Linked DNA regions of Homo sapiens: all the other regions are linked to region 1. The links are contacts of gene promoters, found by promoter capture Hi-C in human tissues and cell types (Jung and others, 2019). All regions are on one chromosome and are shown on one strand. The core of a region is centred on a gene start or on the middle of the fragment in contact, and the rest is flanking DNA. Distances in the headings are between cores, read along the strand shown. Region 1 overlaps ZNF146 (zinc finger protein 146). Region 2 holds the start of SYNE4 (spectrin repeat containing nuclear envelope family member 4). Region 3 holds the start of CLIP3 (CAP-Gly domain containing linker protein 3).

Region 1 (4,345 bases), core at 1,113-3,612:
GAGCCGAGATTGCGCCACTGCACTCCAGCCTAGGGGACAGAGTGAGACTCCGTCTCAAAAAAAAAAAAAAAAAAAAAAGCAGTCCCTTAACCTGAAAACAACAAATGAACCCAACTGTATGTTAATTTAGTAACATAATTCCTCAGAAAAACGATTTCAAATGACTTTAGAACAGAGTTCTTTGACTACATACATCTTTAGTGAGATGCATTTTAAAAGCTGGGCTCAGTGGCTCATGCCTGAAATCCCAGCACTTTGGGAGGCCAAGACGAGTAGGAAGTCAGGAGTTCGAGACCAGCCTGGCCAACATGGTGAAACGCTGTCTCTACTAGAAATACAAAAATTAGCTAGGCGTCATGGTGGGCACCTGTAATCCCAGCTACTCAGGAGGCTGAGGCAGGAGAATCGCTGGAACTGGGGAGGCAGATGTTGCAAGTGAGCCAAGATCACACCACTGCACTCTGCCCTGGGCAAAAGAGTAAGACAACATCTCAAAAAAAAAAAAAAGATGCATTTTAAGAACAAAAATAGTTACATATATTAAAGAAAGAATTTTTTAACATGATACAGTATGTTTATGGTTACTACTAGTATCAGCATTGTTACTGAAACCATTTTCTTTATATTGCAGGATAAAGCAAACAAAATAAGTACTTATAACTTGTTTCATATTTTTTACTATAAAATACAACTAGGAGGCCGGGCGCCGTGGCTCACGCCTGTAATCCCAGCGCTTTGGGAGGCCAAGGTGGGCAGATCACCTGAGGTTAGGAGATCGAGACCATCCTGGCTAACACGGTGAAACCCCATCTCTACTAAAAATACAAAAACTTAGCTGGGCGTGGTGGCATGCACCTGTAGTCCCAGCTACTCGGGAGGCTGAAGCAGGAGAATCACTTGAACCCAGGAGGCGGAGATTGCAGTGAGCTGAGATCGTGCCACTGCACTCCAGCCTGGGCGACAGAGCAAGACTCCGTCTCAAAAATAAAATAAAATTAAATTAAAAAAAAGAACTAGGAGCTAAGAAATTAGGTAAAAATACTATACCATTTAAAGTGAATTAGAAATACGAATATGGACTCATGATTTTTAAAAATACATTAAAAATGTATTTTTTAAATGCTCTGCAATTTAAAATGGCCTTAAAACAATGTTACCCCTGGGCAATGAGCACACCCTTGATCTTGTCTCTAATACCATTCTCCAATAAAAGGAACCAGAGCTCCTTGGAGAAATGGTCAATTCCAAGTCTGGGAGGAAGATACAAGCCTGCAGTGCAGGAAAACTTTCCAAGATCAATGATGTCAGCCAAAATGAGACAAGAATGACCTGAAGGGGTATCCACTGGCATCAAAAAGTGCAGCTGATTCTAGAACACGCTAAATATACACAACTTTAGGATGATGTTTAAGAAAGAAAAAGCCAGGGGGAAAAAAAGATACAATTTGATGTAACAATGAAACAAATGTAAAAGGAATGAAAAGACAAGAGAAATTAAGACTATACTTCCAGGGATCATTTCTAGTTTGTTCCCAGAAGTTTCTCTTAACGTATAGACTACTACATTTTTACACAAAACAAACAAACAACAACAACAAAAAAAACAGAAAATCATCACTTTACAATACCTGTAGAAATTTACTCATCCAGCCAAGAATTATGTATTGGTTTTAAAACCATCCACTAAATGACTGATGGAGAATGAACCAAAGTAAACATAACATTTTGGTCAAAGGGAAGTAACAATCACCAGCCATCTGGTATATCTCTCCTAATGGTATGCAATTTGAAGTATGTAAGATCACCTCTGATGTATTCTGGCCAAAAATCAATCACAATTAGAATTAAAAAAAAAATCATCAGAGATTCTGAATTAGAACCATGCAAAAGTAATCATAGAAATCAAAGAACAAATCTTCCAAAGGAGCGGATAATGATGACTTTCTAAAGATAAACATAACTCAAACACAGAAATCTAACTTCCAGCCTGGGCAACATAGTAAGACTCCATCTCTACAAAAAAAGGTTTAAAAATTAGCAGGTCGTGGTGGCACACACCTGTAGTCCCAACCACTGCGGGGGTGGGGCTGAGGTGGGAGGATCTCTTCAGCCCAGGAGGTGGAGGCTGCAATGAGATGTGATCGCACCAGTGCACCCAGCCTGAGCCAGAGTGAGACCCCATCTCAAAAATCAAAAAACAAACCTAACTTCCTGATTCCAGTTAAAAAAGGAAATATCCACAGAAAATTTTAAGTGGCCAGGCGCAGTGGCTCACGCCTGTAATCCCAGCACTTTGGGAGGCCGAGGTGGGCGGATCACGAGGTCAGGAGATGGAGACCATCCTGGCTAACACGGTGAAATCCCGTCTCTACTAAAAATACAAAAAATTAGCCGGACGTGGTGGTGGGCGCCCGTAGTCCCAGCTACTTGGGAGGCTAAGGCTGGAGAATGGCGTGAACCTGGGAGGTGAAGCTTGCAGTGAGCCAAGATAGCACCACTGCACTCCAGCCTGGGCGACAAACCGAGACTCTGTCCCCCCCTCCACCAAAAAAAAAGAAAATTTTAAGTAAAAAAATTAAAATATAGAAATATTAGGCCGGGCGCAGTGGCTCACGCCTGTAATGCCAGGACTTTGGGAGGCTGAGGCAGGTGGATCACAAGGTCAGGAGATCCAGACCATCCTGGCTAACGCGGTGAAACCCCATCTCTACTAAAAATACAAAAACAAAATTAGCCAGGCGTGGTGGCTGGCACCTGTAGTCCCAGCTACTCAGGAGGCTGAGGCGGGAGAATGGCATGAACCAGGGAGGCAGAGCCTGCAGTGAGCCGAGATCAGGCCACTGCACTGCAGCCTGGGCGACAGTGAGACTCCATCAAAAAAAAAAAAGAAATATTAATAACAAAAGTGCATCTACATATCTTATTCTTTCAGAAATTCCTACCAGACACAGGACTATAATATTTTCTGAGGAAGCATTTTTTTTGCAGCTAGTAATAAAAAGTACTAGTATTTAACATTAATCAAGTACTTACTACACACTGGGGACTATTCTTAGAACTTTACATGTATTAACTTCTGGAGCTACACAACCACCCTTTGAATCAAATATTGCTATTATTTCTATACTATGAAATGAGCAACTGAGGCCCAAGGTTTAAGTACCTACCTGAGGTCCCCAAGGTAAAAAGTGGCAGAGGAAGGAGTTAACACAGGAAGTCTGGCTCCTTGGCCTATGTCTTCCTTTAATTTAAAAAAAAAAAAAAAAAAATTAGCTCATGCCTGTAATCCCAGTACTTTGGGAGGCTGAGGCAGGCAGATCACATGAGGTCAGGAGTTCGAGACCAGCCTGGTCACCATGGTGAAACCCCGTCTCTACTAAAAATACAAAGCCTTTGCCCTGTCTATTCCAGTACCCCCACCCCAACAGCCAGTTTTATTATTTCGTATGTATCTTTTGAATTTTTTTTTTTTTTTTTGAGATGGAGTTTCACTCTCGTTGCCCAGGTTGGAGTGCAATGGCGCAATCTCTGTTCACTGCAACCTCCGCCTCCCGGGTTCAAGCAATTATCTTGCCTCAGCCTCCCAAGTAGCTGGGATTAACAGGCATGTGCCGCCACGCCTGGCTAATTTTGTATTTTTAGTAGAGACGGGGTTTCTCCATGTTGGTCACGCTGGTCTCAAACTCCTGACCTCAGGTGATCCGCCTGCGTTGGCCTCCCAAAGTGCTGGGATTATAAATACATATTCTTATTACCCCTTTTCTTATTCCAAATGCATCGTGTATCATACTCTACATTCTGCACCTTGCTTTCTCTCAGTTAACAATACATTTTGAAGTTATTTCTGTCTCAGTATATAAAGAGCTTCCTCCTCATTCTTTTGTACAGCTATGTATTATTTTGTTGTATCGATGTACACCAATCTCCCACTGATGGGCATGAACTGTTTTTCTTTTCTTTCTTCTCTCTCTCTCCTTTCTTTCTTTCTTAAGACAGGGTCGGCCAGGCACCGTGGTTCATGCCTGTAATCCTAGCACTTTGGGAAGCCGAGGCGGGCCGATCACTTGAGGTCAAGAGTTCAAGACCAGCCTGGCCAACATGGTAAAACCCTGTCTCTACTAAAAATACAAAAAAAGTAGCCGGGTGTGGTGGCAGGCAACTAATCCCAGCTACTCGGGAGGCTGAGCCAAGAGAATCGCTTGAACCTGGGGGGCAGAGGTTGCAGGGAGCAGAGATTGGGCCACTGCACTCTAGACTGGGCAAGAGAGAGAGACTCCATCTCAAAAAAAAAAAAAAAAAAAAAAAAAGACAGGGACTGGCTGTCCACCAAGCTGGAATGCTGTCG
Region 2 (4,345 bases), core at 1,104-3,603, 210 kb after region 1:
GGCTATCTCCAAACGGTCAGGGGTCCCTGAGAGGATCAGGGTGCTTCCAGCCACTGTGGAATCCCTAATGGGGGATCTATTGCTATAGGGGGGCCCTCAGGACCCCATTGCCTTCCCCAGGTGGGCTTCCTCATCCCCGAGGGATGGTTCCTGAGCGGCTGCCCCCATGGCTCCAGCGCTACGTGGACAAAGTGTCAAACCTCAGCCTCTTTGGAGGCCTCCCAGCTAACCATGTCCTCGTGAACCAGTATCTGCCTGGGGAGGGCATCATGGTAACCACACACCCTCGGCCCGTGTCCCCCCACTCAGACTTCTGAGCTGTGCTGGGGCAGGGGACTCTGTACCCACCCTCACTCATTAGGCAGCCACATCTCCCAAACAGGCATTCACCTCCCTGTCCCTGGCTTGGGAAGCCCCCCTTTGACCCAGAGGGTGGGGGTTGTGGACTCCTGCCCTGCCCAGCCCTGGTGCCCACTCCCTAGCCCCACGAGGACGGACCACTGTACTACCCGACTGTCAGCACCATCAGCCTGGGCTCCCACACCGTGCTGGACTTCTACGAGCCGCGGCGGCCAGAGGACGATGACCCTACAGAACAGGTGGGCCCCCAGACACTGCCCCAGCTGCTTGTAGGCACTTCAACCTCGCACATCCTCCAAGATGACCTGGTCCCACATGCCTTCGGGGTACTCCTGGCACTCTCCCAGATACCTTCCCTTGTCCCCTCATGGGGTGTACCCACTTCCTCCCAGACACCCAACCCATCTGCTTACAGGGTGTCTGTCCCACATGCCATGATTTTCACAGGCTCCCCGATGCCCCAACCTGCTGAATGGATACCCCTGACTCCCCAGCAGACACTGATATCCTTAGATACCCCACCGCCATTAACTCGGGGGGCCTCACCTCCTCCCAGATGCTCTATCTGCCCCTGCTCAGGGTGCCCCAGACGTCCTGCTACTCCAGGAATGTGATTTGGGGTGCAGGACACCCCCAGATTCTCCTTGACCCCTTGACACAATTTCTCTGAGTGATGCATTTCTAGCACCCCAGTGTTCACAGAAACGCCCCTGAACACGCCGACCCACTCCTTGAGGCTTGCCCTCGAGCCCTGCATGCTCCTGGATGCTCTGACACTCCCTCAGCTGTGCGGTTGTCCTCTAATGTCCTGATGTCCTTGGGAACCCCCACTGCCTCTAACCTCTGCCTCACTCTCTCCTCACCTGGTCCTGGCTTCAGCCATGCTCTCTCAGCCCAGCTCTGCCTGTATTTCCTGGGGACTGCCTATTCCTGGGTCCCAGCCCCAGCCTCAGCCCCTTTGAGATCCCAGCTGCAGCTCCCACCGGCCGCTGACCCTTTGACGCCCCCATCTGCCACCTAGATCCTGCCCCCTCCCGAGGGACGGCAGAGCCCTCGCCCTCCCTTTCCAGCAGCCCCAGCCCAGGCCCCAGCAATTTTCACTCCTGAACCACCAAAGCCTCCATCATTGTGAGCACACTTGCTCTTCAGCTTTTGCCCCTGGGGACTAGCTGATCCCCGGAGGCTACCGACCTCTCGCCCACCCCCACCCCCCGACTTCTTGAGCCCTGCTGACCCTCAACCCGCCCTGCAGCCTCGGCCTCCGCCCCGGCCCACCACCTCGCTACTGCTGGAACCGCGCAGCCTGCTGGTGCTCCGCGGCCCCGCCTACACGCGTCTTCTCCACGGCATCGCCGCCGCCCGCGTAGACGCGCTGGACGCCGCCTCCTCGCCGCCCAATGCGGCAGCCTGCCCGTCGGCGCGGCCGGGAGCCTGCCTGGTGCGCGGCACCCGGGTCTCGCTGACCATCCGCCGCGTGCCCCGCGTGCTGCGCGCCGGCCTCCTGCTGGGCAAGTGACCGCCAGGGCCGGGACCCCTCGGATTCCCAGGTTCCTGCCCCTTTGGGGCTGCTGTGACTCCGCGACCTAGGAACCGTGGGCAAAGGGGGCTCCCCTGGGTTATTTATTTTCCCAATAATTTTGTGTGAGCTACAGAAGACCCCATACCAAATAAACAAAAAAATCTTTCCTTGGTTTTATATTTTTATTTTTTAGGGGCCAGATGCTTGGTTTCCTGAGGGGAGCGGCATCTAGGGTCTTAAATGAATGGGGTAGGCCCTGGAGGTCCGATTTCTGGGTTCCCAGTGGGGCAGAATCCAGGGCTCTTGAGGAGGTGGCGCAGGGGTTCTATCTGGAACCCTCTTGGATGGCGTGGAGTGATGCTGGGAGATTTAGCTACTGGCCTGCTAGGGAGGAAGGAGTTAAGTGACTCTTCTGTCACCTGAGCTGGGCATCAAATGGCCGGGTCCAGGTTCCTCTTGGAAGGGGCGGAGCCAGACCTGTCCTGGGCCTCTCCTGCAGCCTCAGGCCCGGGTGACTCCAGCGGAGGAGCTCTGGGACACCCTTGTCTAGGGAAGAGGTCTTACTGGCTGCCCTCACCTGACTTTGTGTCCCCAGGCCCCCAGCCATGGCCCTGTCCCTGCCTCTGGGCCCTAGACTTGGCTCAGAGCCCCTCAACCACCCACCGGGAGCACCTAGAGAGGCGGACATTGTTGGATGCACCGTCTGCCCCGCGTCCGGAGAGGAGAGCACGAGGTGGGGGCCGGGGCTTTGGAAGCTTGTTCCCAAAAGGGTAGGCGTGGTGGCAGGGGCCATGTGAGGGTAGGAGGTGCCATGGCTGTGATCGCCTGGGGACATAGGAGAGGCCACCAGGGTTGGGGTGACGGTAGGCTGAAAAGTGAGGTGTCGAGACTCACCCAGTCACCGCCCCCTGCCTCCTAGCCCAGAGCAGGCCCAGACCCTGGGACAGGACTCCTTGGGCCCTCCTGAGCACTTCCAGGGTGGGCCAAGGGGCAATGAGCCTGCCGCTCACCCCCCGAGATGGTCAACACCCTCTTCCTACGAGGACCCAGCTGGGGGCAAACACTGTGAGGTGAGCTGAGGTGACCCAGACCCCTTGTGCCAGCCCCACCTCCTCTCTGTCCCCTGGAGTCTGGCCTCCATACTGAGGACCGGGTGATGATTCTGGAAAGGTGTTGGGTGTCTGTAGGGGGAGGGACCTTCTGGAAAAGTGTTTCAATATCTGACCAACTGGGGAGACGTATTTCTTTCTTTCTTTTTTTTTTTGAGATGGAGTCTCTCTGTCACCTAGGCTGGAATGCAGTGGTGAGATCTCTGCTCACTGCAACCTCCGCCTCCCAGGTCCCAGTGATTCTCCTGCCTCAGCCACCCGAGTAGCTGGGATTACAGGCACATGCCACCATACCTGGCTAATTTTTTGTATTTTTAGTAGAGATGGGTTTTCGACTTGTTGGCCAGGCTAGTCTCGAACTCCCGACCTCAGGTGATCCACCCACCTCAGCCTCCCGAAGTGCTGGGATTACAGGCGTGCGTCACCGTGTCCAGCCATATTTCTTTTTTATTAAAAAAAAAAAAGTAGAGATGATGTCTCACCATGTTGCCCAGGCTGGTCTTGAACTCCTGGGCTCAAGTGATCCTCGGGCCTCGGCCTCCCAAAGTGCTGGGATTACAGATGTGAACCACTGCGCCCGGCTGAGAAGCATTTCATCATTGCTCCTGGTGTAGCCCCATTCTTCTTGGGGGGTACCCAGCCCCGCTCCCTGTCCAGACCCCCCAGGCCTCACACATCCAAGTTTCCAGGAGCTTTGAAAACCTGGAGACCTTGAACTAGATATCTGTCCTCAGGCCTGGCTCCACTGGGAAGGCCCCCCCAGTGGGAGCCATCCTGGTGCAGACAGACCCGGAGATGGACTGTGCCACAGAGAAGTTTCCAGAAGCTTACAGAAGAGGGGTGGGGATGGGAGCAGGGGTGATATCTTGATTGGCCCACTGGCCCTGACCTGGCTCCTGTGTTCCCCAGCACCCCATTTCTGGCCTGGAGGTACTAGAGGCTGAGCAGAACAGCCTGCACCTGTGCCTGCTGGGGCTGGGCCGCCGGCTGCAGGACCTGGAGCAAGGCCTGGGGCACTGGGCATTGGCCCAGAGTGGGATGGTGCAGCTGCAGGTAGGCAGGAGAGGCCAGGATGTGGGGGTGGGCACGGCCCCAGCAGTGGGTGCCAGCTTTCCGGGATGGGAAATGGGTTGAGTGCATGTTCCAGGCCTTTGGATAGGAAATGGGGGAGGGGGGTAACTCCAGGTTTTGGGTCCCTGGTGTGTGCGTGGGGTGATGTCCATATGTCCCCAGGCCCTCCAGGTGGACCTACGAGGGGCAGCTGAGCGTGTGGAGGCGCTGCTAGCGTTTGGTGAGGGGCTGGCACAGCGGAGTGAGCCCAGGGCCTGGGCAGCCCTGGAGCAGATCCTGCGGGCCC
Region 3 (4,345 bases), core at 593-3,092, 190 kb after region 1:
AAGTAAGATCCTAAAACAGGGCAGAGAGGGAGCCACGTAGGGATTTGGAGGAAGAGCATTCCGGGCATCACAAAGAGCCGTTGCAGGCCAGGCACGGTGGCTCACGCCTGTCGTCCCAGCACTTTGGGAAGCTGAGGCAGGCAGATAACCTAAGGTCAGGAGTTTGAGACCAGCCTGGCCAACATGGCGAAACCCCGTCCCTACTAAAAATACAAAAATTAGCTGGGTGTGGTGGCACAGGCCTGTAATCCCAGCTACTCGGGAGGCTGAGGCAGGAGAATCACTTGAACCTGGAAGACAGAGGTTGCAGTGAGCAGAGATCATGCCACTCCACTCCAGCCTGGGGAACAGTGAGACTGCCATCTCAAAAAAAAAAAAAAAAAAGAGCCAGTGCAAAGGTCCTGGGGTAGGGAGAAGCAAGGAGGCCAGTGTGGCTGGGGTGGAGTGAACAAAAGAGGGTGAGAGGAGGTGAGTGCAGAGATGATGGGGCAGGTTCACATAGGCCCTTGTGGGCCATGGCTGAGAGCCTTGGCTTCTACCTGGAGTGAGGTGCAGCAGGCAGACCCCTCTGAGGGAAAGAGGGCTCCAAAGTGACAGGTGTTCATGGGTCCCTGTGGCTGCATGTTGGAGGAGGACGGGGACAGCAGGTAAGAGGCTGCTGCCGTAGTGCTGGTGGCAGAAGAAGAAGGATGGACCAAGATGAGGGCCCAGGGTAGCGGTGGGGAGAGTGAGATCCTGGAAATCTTTTGGAGATGGAGCTACTGGACCTGTGCATTAGAAGGATGAGGTGTTCAAGGCTGTCACCCAGCCCCATCCAGGCTGGGATGATTTGAGGCAGAGCAGGCTACAGCTCCAGGTGGGAAGCCAAGCCATGACAATGGAGCCAGGACCCTGGGCTGGCTTCAGGAGGCCTCCGTGGGGAAGATACAGGTTCTGAGAGAGTTGGAGGGGTCAATCGGCAGATCTGTTTCCCAGACACTGCTACAGGCATGTAGCATGGTGATTAAGAATCAAAGCTGGGCATGGTGACTCGTGCCTGTAATCTCAGCGCTTTGGGTGGCAGGGGCAGGAGGATCCCTTGAGGTCAGGAGTTCAAGACCAGCCTGGGCAACATGGCAAAACCCTGTCTCAAAAAAAATTCTCCAGACATGGTGGCATGCACGTGTGGTCTCGGCTACTCGGGAGGTTGAGGTGGGAGGATGGCTTGAGCCCAGAAGTTTGACGCTGCAGTGAGCCAAGATCACAACACTGCACAGTAGCCTGGGTGACAGAGTGAGACCCTGTCTAGGAAATAATAAAAATAAAAATCAGACTTTACAGACTGTCTGGTTTCAAATGTTCGCTCCATCACCTACTCATGTACTTTTGGGCAAGCTGCTTAACCTCTGGGCCCCAGTGTGTGAGCCTCGCATTATGATGGTAAGGATGAGATGATCATGATAGGAGTCTCTAGGAAATCACCCCTCTGAGGCACCCATTATGAATGGTGAGCTTGGAGAAGGGGTCCGGTCTAGGGTCCTAGAGAGAGGGTCCCCTAGAGGGTCCCCATCGTCACCACGCCCCAAGACCACTGCCCTCACCGGCCTGGTTTGCAGGCGTGGGGGAAGGGGATGGAGAAGATCTGTGTCCGCTCTCTCAGCCCTCTCTTTTGCCGTTGTATCTGCTCATCTCGCTCCTTTCCGTAGCCATCTCTTCCTCTCCCAGTGCCCGGAGGCTCTCCCCTTTCAGTCGCCGCCTCTGGCCCCTCCATCAATGCGAGCGCCTCCCGGTCCCTCCTCCTGGTCCCTCCTCCCCCGCCGCCGGTAGGGGGGCAGCAGGCGCATGCGCAGTCGCGCCCCTCCCTCTCCGCCCCCACCCCCTGTCGGCGTCTGGGCCTCGTCCCCTTCTCTCTGTCTCCCTTGCCTCCCCCATCACGTCCCCTGACACCGACACCCCATTGCTCCCACAGTCTCCCCAGTCTCCACTTTGGTCCCCAGCGCTGTCTGCCCGAGGTAAGATGGGGAGGGGGCGGCCCGCGGAGAAGGGGAGGGGCGAAGCATCCTGAATCCCGAGATAAACAAACCCGGGGAGGGGGCAGCCGCGACTGAGGGGCCTGACGCGGGAGGAGAAGAATGGGGGGCTGGGCCTGGGGGAGGTGGCAGGCGCTGGGCGCACACACCGGGGCCCTCTATGGGTAACGGGGGTCCCTATGGTTGCCCAAGATCCAGTTGCGCGGAGGCCACCCGGGGCCCTGGAAGCTCCTAGGGGCTTGGACCCTGGAGCCTGCCGGGCACCCTCTCCAGCTGACCTCTGCCTCCAGGATTTGCCTGAAGGCTGCCCCCAACTCTGCACCCGCCCCCCGAGGGCCACCGAGGACCATGACTAAGACAGATCCTGCCCCGATGGCCCCGCCACCCCGAGGAGAGGAGGAAGAAGAGGAGGAGGAGGATGAACCCGTCCCCGAGGCCCCCAGCCCCACCCAGGAGCGCCGGCAGAAGCCTGTTGTGCACCCCTCGGCACCTGCCCCCCTCCCTAAGGACTACGGTAACCACTGTCCCCACCCTGGAATCTGGCCTGGAGCGTTGGGTGGCCGGGGAGGGTGGGCTGTGCTCTGCTGGTGGTGATGGTGGGAGAATTCTGGGGAATTTGAAGGTGGTCCAGAGGAATCTTGGCTGCAGAGCACCCCTCGTTAATTCATTCATTCACCCATTGGAGAATGGAATTGTAATACTCCTAGTCTTTGACTCATGACACATCATTCCATCATTTAGTCATTCAACAATCATTTTTTGAAAGCGGCTGTGGACCTGGCTTTATGCTAGGGGCTGGGGCCACAGCAGGGGGCAAGAGAGACCCAGTCTTTGCCCTGAGACAACTCACAGGCCTCAGTAACAGCCACACAAATAGGTATTAAACCATAATGTAATTTTTCACATTTAGGTTTATATGCAAGAAAGAAAAATATAATGTAATATAAATATGTAATTACAAGACATTATGAAAATTGTATTTACCATAAACAAGCTGCTGCAAGAGTTTTTTAAGACATTGTTTCCCTGAGGAGGTTACAGTTGAGAAGACTGGAGGGTGAGTTGGGGTTAACTAAGAGAAGGGTCAGGGGAAAGGGCTCCCAGGAGAGGTAACCGCTGGGTAAAGGATCTGAGGTAGGAGGGTATGGAGCTGAGAGGGCGGCCTCTTGGAGAAACTGAAAGTGTCTAATCATTGACCGAGCGATATTTATCGAGTGCTGCTACTCTGTGACAAGCCTTATGCTGGGTGCCGGAGATTTAATCCTAAGTGATCCAGGCATGATCCTCCCTTGCAGGAGAGAAGGAGAGACTAAACAAGTGAACAGATAAATAAATCAGAAATCAGATAAATTCAGATTGGAGCAAGTGCTATGAAAGAAAGAAAAGGTGGGCTGGGCATGGTGTCTCACGCCTGTAATCCCAGCACTTTGGGAGGCTGAGGCCAGCGGATCACCTGAGGTCAGGAGTTTGAGACCAGCCATGGCCAACATGGTGAAACCCCATCTCTACTAAAAATACAAAAATTGGCTGGGTATAGTGGCATATGTCTGTAATCCCAGCCACTCGGGAGGCTGAGGCAGTAGAATCGCTTGAACCTGGGAGGCAGAGGTTGCCCAAGATCGAGCCACTACACTCCAGCCTGAGTGACAGAGTAAGACTGTCTCAAAAAAAAAAAAAAAAAAGAAAAAAAAAAAAAAGAAAAGAAAAAAAGAAAAAAGAAAAAGAAATTAAAGGTGGAGATACGATAATGACTAGGGGGCAGCTACCTGCAGGGGTAGTCAGGGCTGCTCTTTCTGAGTAGGTAACATTTAGTTTGGGACCCAGAGCATGGGGAGGAATCAGCCATAAGAGAGCTGGAAAAAGAGTGTTCCAGGCAGACAGCAGCAAGTGCAAAGGCCCTGAGGCAGAATTGAACTTGGAACAGAAAGATCCTGGAGCTGCATTCAGGGAATGATCGAGGTTGAGGTGAGAGGTTGGCATAGGCCAGATCTGGAAGGGCCTTCAAGGCTACAGTGAGGACTTTGGTTATATTCTAAGTGGGACAGGGGAGAAGAGTGGCAAGGGGAGGGTGTTTAAGAGCAGAGGAGTGGCAGGTCTGATTTGTAGTTTGAAAGCTCCCTCTGGGTACTGGGTAGAAGGGGATGGAGTGCAGCCAGAGTTGGATGTAGGAGGGGAATTTGGAAGATATGCAGGCTGGGAATCCCCGGCAGCTGTGAGGTTCAGAAACCAGGTTCAGAGAGTCAGCGTTGCCAGGATAGAGCAAGACAGATGGCATCCATGGACATGTCACCCACTAGAGGTAGATCAGGGAGACTACAAGTTGACTTCAGTCTAAT

What was found. The method cuts DNA at HindIII sites, captures the fragments that hold promoters and counts their contacts. A contact is called where the count stands out against the background at its distance.
Region 2: a contact is called between the fragment with the promoter of SYNE4 here and a fragment that was not itself captured in region 1, in 1 of the 25 tissues and cell types used here (dorsolateral prefrontal cortex).
Region 3: a contact is called between the fragment with the promoter of CLIP3 here and a fragment that was not itself captured in region 1, in 3 of the 25 tissues and cell types used here (dorsolateral prefrontal cortex, spleen and stomach).

The regions. Positions count from the first base shown.
Region 1 is chr19:36,217,018-36,221,362 of GRCh38, reverse strand. ZNF146 (zinc finger protein 146) reads right to left here. Exons shown (of 4, transcript NM_007145.3): 2 at 3,168-3,241. It also overlaps a transcript of ZNF565 not described here. Among named protein-coding and RNA genes, the nearest start is that of ZNF146, 4.1 kb to the right of the region's middle. The HindIII fragment of the contact is 7,261 bases long and covers 1-4,345 here.
Region 2 is chr19:36,006,821-36,011,165 of GRCh38, reverse strand. It overlaps SYNE4 (spectrin repeat containing nuclear envelope family member 4), which reads left to right and starts at 2,353. Exons shown (of 8, transcript NM_001039876.3): 1 at 2,353-2,612; 2 at 2,799-2,949; 3 at 3,898-4,041; 4 at 4,222-4,345. The coding sequence starts at 2,485. It overlaps ALKBH6 (alkB homolog 6), which reads left to right. Exons shown (of 7, transcript NM_032878.5): 5 at 121-272; 6 at 483-599; 7 at 1,613-2,046. The coding sequence ends at 1,876. RefSeq lists enhancers at 2,100-2,639, 2,640-3,181. The HindIII fragment of the contact is 19,934 bases long and covers 1-3,224 here.
Region 3 is chr19:36,030,370-36,034,714 of GRCh38, reverse strand. It overlaps CLIP3 (CAP-Gly domain containing linker protein 3), which reads left to right and starts at 1,842. Exons shown (of 14, transcript NM_015526.3): 1 at 1,842-1,991; 2 at 2,300-2,523. The coding sequence starts at 2,358. The region is part of intron 3 of LOC101927572 (a long non-coding RNA gene); the gene reads right to left. The HindIII fragment of the contact is 12,641 bases long and covers 1-4,345 here.